Linked DNA regions of Homo sapiens: region 1 is linked to region 2. The links are contacts of gene promoters, found by promoter capture Hi-C in blood cells and fetal thymus (Javierre and others, 2016). All regions are on one chromosome and are shown on one strand. The core of a region is centred on a gene start or on the middle of the fragment in contact, and the rest is flanking DNA. Distances in the headings are between cores, read along the strand shown. Region 1 overlaps MRPS22 (mitochondrial ribosomal protein S22). Region 2 holds the start of TOPBP1 (DNA topoisomerase II binding protein 1).

What was found. The method cuts DNA at HindIII sites, captures the fragments that hold promoters and counts their contacts. A CHiCAGO score of 5 or more calls a contact.
Region 1: a contact is called between a fragment that was not itself captured here and the fragment with the promoter of TOPBP1 in region 2, in 1 of 17 cell types (total CD8 T cells). The highest score is 5.2, in total CD8 T cells.

What each region holds. Positions count from the first base shown.
Region 1 is chr3:139,348,839-139,351,989 of GRCh38, forward strand. MRPS22 (mitochondrial ribosomal protein S22) reads left to right here. Exons shown (of 8, transcript NM_020191.4): 4 at 1,341-1,484; 5 at 2,139-2,222. Among named protein-coding and RNA genes, the nearest start is that of MRPS22, 6.4 kb to the left of the region's middle. The HindIII fragment of the contact is 2,342 bases long and covers 80-2,421 here.
Region 2 is chr3:133,660,500-133,663,293 of GRCh38, forward strand. TOPBP1 (DNA topoisomerase II binding protein 1) reads right to left here and starts at 1,442. Exons shown (of 28, transcript NM_007027.4): 1 at 1,270-1,442; 2 at 545-635. The coding sequence starts at 628. LOC124909487 reads left to right here and starts at 727. Exons shown (of 3, transcript XM_047449438.1): 1 at 727-847; 2 at 1,014-1,534; 3 at 2,400-2,794. The coding sequence starts at 727. The coding sequence ends at 2,549. It also overlaps a transcript of TF not described here. RefSeq lists a silencer at 1,229-1,398 and an enhancer at 1,799-1,868. The HindIII fragment of the contact is 9,162 bases long and covers 1-1,568 here.

The sequences.
Region 1 (3,151 bases), core at 1-2,500, 5.7 Mb after region 2:
TGTTGTGATTGTTATTCTCTGGCTCCTCTTTACTTGATTGCAAATTTAAAAGAACACTCTGGCATTTTAGAAATATGTAAGCTTTGTATTTGAGCCTTTGCAAGTAAAGAATAAAAAGAGAATAGTTTACAATTCAGCCCACAGAATACGTTAGAACACTATAGAATGCTGAGTTTAGGAGAAGGTTCACTCCATATTAATCTTTTATTATACATGATTATGGTTAGAAAACGATTTGAGCTATGTTCAACACCAGCCATCTGTATATTTGACATAATGAACATGAGTCACAGAGTTTCAATTTTAATTACAGTTTTTGTTTTGTGATGCTTTAATATATGTTTGCAGTGCTGTGCATGTTGGTTGGGAAGCATTTTGTAACTTGAAAAGGAGAAAGGAACTTGGAATTCAGGTTTCTCAAATTACCAAAATCCTTCTGAGGAAAAATTGTATTATGTTGGCATGTGCTTTTTTTTTTTCGATTGGCAGTGTTGATGGAAGTTTCATCTATGTTATCTTCAGAACACATTTAGAGACTCCTACACCTCTGAAAACTTGAGAGTCAGTACTGTTTGGTTAATTTATACATTAATCAGGTGTGTATCAATTATCAGCAATGTGCAAAGCTCCATGTATGCCACTCCCGGTATTGCAAAAAATTATAATCCACATTTCCTGCCCTTTTCCAGTTATATAACAATATCTGAGGGATGCCAAAAATCTTGTGTGGGGTAAATTTCCAGTTGAATGGTATAAAAAGTAGGTAGAATTTAGAGGAGGAAGTGATCCCATGGCCTGGGAGTTGGCAGTTGGAAGATCGAAGTGACCAGAGACAGTTGGACCAGACAGCCTCTCAGACATGTTTATGTCTAATGCCAATATAAGAAATCATAAAAGTGTAGAAGTAAGACTCCTCATTCTTGGGTTTGTTCTTTTTATCCCAAGGACTTTAAACATAGATCATAAAGTAGTAAAATCTGTTTAGATGAGACTTTGGGATAGAGAAATGAAAGTTTGGAAAGGTCATAGCACTTCTTTCCTCTAAAATGGATATAGATGAATCTCAGCTTTTTTCGTATCGAACTCACGTTAGCACCATAGTTGGTACTTACTGAATACTTTCATTTTAGATTTCTGATTGTCAGATGCACAGCAGTGATTAGTGAAGGAAATATCAAACCTTGCCAAGTCTTTGAGGTTTAAAATTATCATTGATCTCATATGCATGATTGCATTTTATATTGTTGATTGCAAATTATTCTTATAATGGCCTTAGTGGGACACAGGAACTAAAAATACGTCCTCACAAACGCATCCTTGATTATGTTTTTCTATTTTAGGAGCGTTTTATTGTCGTCAGAGAACCAAGTGGCACACTACGCAAAGCCTCTTGGGAAGAACGGGACCGAATGATACAAGTTTATTTCCCAAAAGAAGGTCGTAAAATTTTGACACCAATAATTTTCAAGGAAGAAAATCTTAGGGTAAGGTGACTTAGGTTTTATGTTTTAGAGCCAGTGGTGATGATTTATTTGTAGAACCAGTTGGCTTTGTGCCTTGATCCAGATAAACATTTCTAATGATAACTTGACTTTTTTTTTTTTTTGAAATGGAGTTTCGCTCCTTTTGCCCAGGCTGAAGTGCAGTGGCGGGATCTCAGCTCACTGCAACCTCCACCTTCTGGTTTCAAGTGATTCTTCTGCCTCAGCCTCATGAGTAGCTGGGATTACAGGCGCCCGCCACCACGCTTGGCTAATTTTTGTATTTTTAGTAGAGATGGGGTTTCACCATGTTGGCCAGGCTGGTCTTGAACTCCTGACCTCGGGATTCGCACCCCCCCCCCGCAATCCGACTCCCAAAGTGCTGGGATTACAGGCGTGAGCCACCATGCCTGGCCGACTTCTTTCTTAATAGAATCCTCCTTACCACCCAAGATGGGTTGTACTAGGGTTCTCTCATAATTGGCTTAGCTGGAATTTGAATCTAGGTGTGACAATTACAAAGCCTGTGTTCTTTCTTTATGCTTCTTGAGGAGCACAGAGTGGCCAGTATGTGGGTGGGCAGGCCTGTCATGACATCAGGACAGGTGCTGAACTTCAGTGTTCTCATGTGATGCTAACTCTGCTGTGTGGTTTTAGACTATGTATAGCCAGGACAGGCATGTTGATGTCCTCAATCTCTGCTTTGCCCAGTTTGAGCCAGATTCCACAGAGTATATCAAGGTGAGTAGATTTTAGTTTCTAAAATATAGGCTTAAGTATGGTTATGAGTAAGATTTTTAATCTAGCTCAATGAATTTCGTTGTAAGTTTTGATACAGGGGAAAGGGAAGAGAAATACCTGAAAATCTATTGAGTACAGTTGTGTGCCAGATATATATTTTATAATCACAACAACCCTTGATTAAAGATGAGGGAATTTAAGCTTGTAGAATTAAGTAGCTTGCTGAAAGTTGCATAGCTACTAAGTGGTAGGGTTAGGACCCAAGTTTGATGACAAAGCCTATTCTCTTTTCAGTTTACCGTATAGGAATCAAATTATTTACTAAAATTTTGCTGAAGTACAGTGTGTTTGTCTTACAGCTCAGTAAGTATTCATTAGTACCTTCTATGTGTAAGGTATTATCTTGGGTAGTATAGGTGATGCCACGAACTAGGATAGAGTATGCTGTGCCAAAGCCAGCAGTCCGGATATGGCTGTGGGGAAAGGTGCTAGTAAGTATACAAATAATTATCTCCTCAGGCCTAAAATGCTAGACACTAAGAGAAGATTACAAATTCTTTGAAGAAAGCCTTCATAGGGGTGTAAAGGAGGGTTCTAGAAGTGCAGGAAATGTTGTGGCAGGTGGAGCTGGGTGAGGTGTTTCAGGTAGAGAGAACAGTATAAGCAACAGGCAGGAAAAAAGGAGGCTTGAGAAACGGCCAGTGATCTGGTTTGCTTATATATGCCATGTATATGTAGGGGAGTGATTAAAGATTAAGTTAGGAAGGTGGATGTAGCCACATCATAGGTGACCTCAGATGCTAGGCTGAGGAATCTGGAATTCAGTCAGCAGACCTTTGAAAGCCTTTTGAACAGAGGAATGCCCCCATCAGAACCTTCATTTAGGAAGATCAATCTGGAAGGAGGACTGAAGGACCTTTAGTTAATAA
Region 2 (2,794 bases), core at 192-2,691:
CTCAAACTTTAATGCACACTGAAGATCTTGTTAGAAATGCAGATTCTAAGTCTGGGTTGGAGGCCAAGATTCTGCATTTCGAAGAAACTTCCAGGCCATGCTGATACTGCTGGGTTCTGTGAGAAGCAAGGATCTACATCACCCCTACTATCATCCAATTATTATACTGTACATAATAAAACATAATTTTTAACAATTAACCAAAAAATTTTCAAGTATGACCAGTACACAACTGACTCAAATTTCTACAGCACGCAAAGGACCACTCTGGCTAGGAGACAAATGAAAGCAACTTAATTTCCAAGAACTGTAGGTCAGCCATATTAAACAGCAATGTGATAATAGACTTCCAGCCCCCCGAAATACATAATGATGTACTTAGATCAATTCAAAAATATGTGATAATGATATATCTGTATTAATGTAGACTATAAAATTATTATGAAAGTGAAATATCTACTTCTAAGACATAAAGCCCAACAAATCAAAAACACTTAAAAACAAGAAAATGAATTCACGGTATTAAGATGTTTTCAACTCTTACCTCGAGAGCTTTAAAAAAACATTTGGAATTGTCTGAAGACTTTAAAAACTTCACAAAAAACGGTTCTTTGTCATTTCTGGACATTTCTGAACTGTCAAAATAAAGGAACCATTAACAAGAACAAAACCACATTAGATAAAAAGTTGCATGTTTAACCTACCTATTTTTCTGTGCAGACAAGAATGCCTAAAGACAGACATTCTGGCTCTGCCCGTGAATTCGTCAACGGCATTTCTAAGAAATCCTGGAACTTGGACAAAGCCAAGGTAAAAGATGACAACACCAATCCTTGCAAATCAGACAGCAAAATTAACCCGAATTGAATACACTGAGGAAGGCCCTGCTATGAAGGCTCTAAGCCCTTTAGGCCAATGGACATTCAATTGCACTTGTTTTAAGGATACACAGAGTGTATCTGTCCCTGCGGATACCCACGGCCTGCGAGGTACGTTCATCCCTCAGTAAACAGATTTTAAATATAAACATGGAAGCCAGTTAGCATGGTCTTGGCCCTGCATAAGGCTAGATGCTCCGGTTCCCATCTCCAGGAAAAGGCCTGGCTCTGGGATCACGGAAGCCACGTCCTCTCGGCGTCAAAGGCCCACCCGCCGGCTCCAGGGCCAGTTACCAGGACAGGAAAAGAGGGTCCTGAAGGCCACAGAAGGCATCGCGAACCCCAGTTGGGGCTGGGGAGGAGCTGTGTCCCCACTCCGCGCCTCACTTACCTCGTTGGAGCCTCGGGGTCTCCGGGCGGCGAGTCGGGGGACGCGCTGGCCGCAGGGCGGTGGCTGGGGTCGGGCGCCAGCCCGGCGCACAGCCCCCTCCCCCGACTCGGCGCCGCCCCTACCCCAAAGCAAACGCTGGAGAACCCGGAAATTGCCCAGAACGGGAACCGACTTTCGCGCCAACCGCGCGGCCGCGCTTGCCTTTTCCGGTGGAAGTGACGCCATCGGCAGCTGCAGCAGAAGAGCGGAAATGTCAAACGTGGAGGTGAGCAGTCTGTGGGCGGTGGGGCTTCAGGGAAAGCTTGGGCCGGACCCTTTGGGTTTAGGGCTTTGCTGGGCGGGCCTAGTCTCCGCTGCGAGTAGGCCCAGCGCCGTCGGTTCAAGAGGTAGGACCACAGGCCAGGAATACTCCTTTACTGTTAAAAAAGCCAGGGAAAGAAAGGATTTCCTCAATAGATATTTATTTTACACCTGTCTTATACCAGGCATGCACGGGAAAAGGTATTATCCAAAACAATTCCGTGAGGCAAATAGTGGTAGTTCCATTTTGTAGATGTAAAAACGGAGGAAGTTAAATGATGGGTTCAAGGGCACACGGCTAGTAGGTGGTAGAATTAATACTGCATCCAGGTCTTCTGACTACGGACTGGGTGGTTTCCCTCCAACACAGCAGGAATAGAATCACCGCCTAACACAGCCACAAGATGGCAAGGGAAGAAAGGATGACTTATTACACAGCTAATGCAAAGGGATCTTTGTCAAGATCTTCAATGGTCTCCCCTCCTCCTCCCCTTCAGTGGACATCGCCGTTCTCTTTCTCTGCATCTGCCTCAGTACTGGGGAGATTCTGGGACTGAACCTAAGATTCAGATGGCAGAGAGCAAAGGGAGAGGGGATAAGATGGGCCTGCAAACCTTAGTGATAACCAGCGGAAAACTGATTCGTTGTTGCTTCTTTTCATTTTATTCTTTTTTAAAAAAATTTTTTCTTATTTTATAAAATCTAGCCACTATACTAATGAGGATCATTTTATTATTCACTGCTGAGATTGAGAAAATGACTTTGGATTTACTAATGTAAAAGTATAATGCCATGTCCCTTGATTGTTTTTGTTTTTCTTTTCTTTTTAGAGCCTAAAGATAGTAATGAGCAGCTTGAGTCTTAAGTTTTTGAATACACCGATGGAAGGTGACAAAGATTCTTTGCTTGGCCAAACTTTAGTCAGACTCCTCAACCTTCTCGTAGGTTTATCTGTGCATTTCCTTGGAAAATCCAGTTAGAACCCTCTACCCTCAATATCTGATCAGGTTCCTCATCCTCTACCATCCAAGGTGATGTCTGATCACCTTGACCTATTTTCAGCAAGAAACCCCTTTACTCCTGAAGTTCCTTCTTAGTAATTTTTTATCCAGTGACCCCAAGCTTTTTGTTCCTTGGCTATAAATTCCCACTTGCCCATGGTGTATTTAGAGTTGAGCCCACTCTCTCTCTCCTAATTCAGAATCCCATTGCCATGGTTGCTATA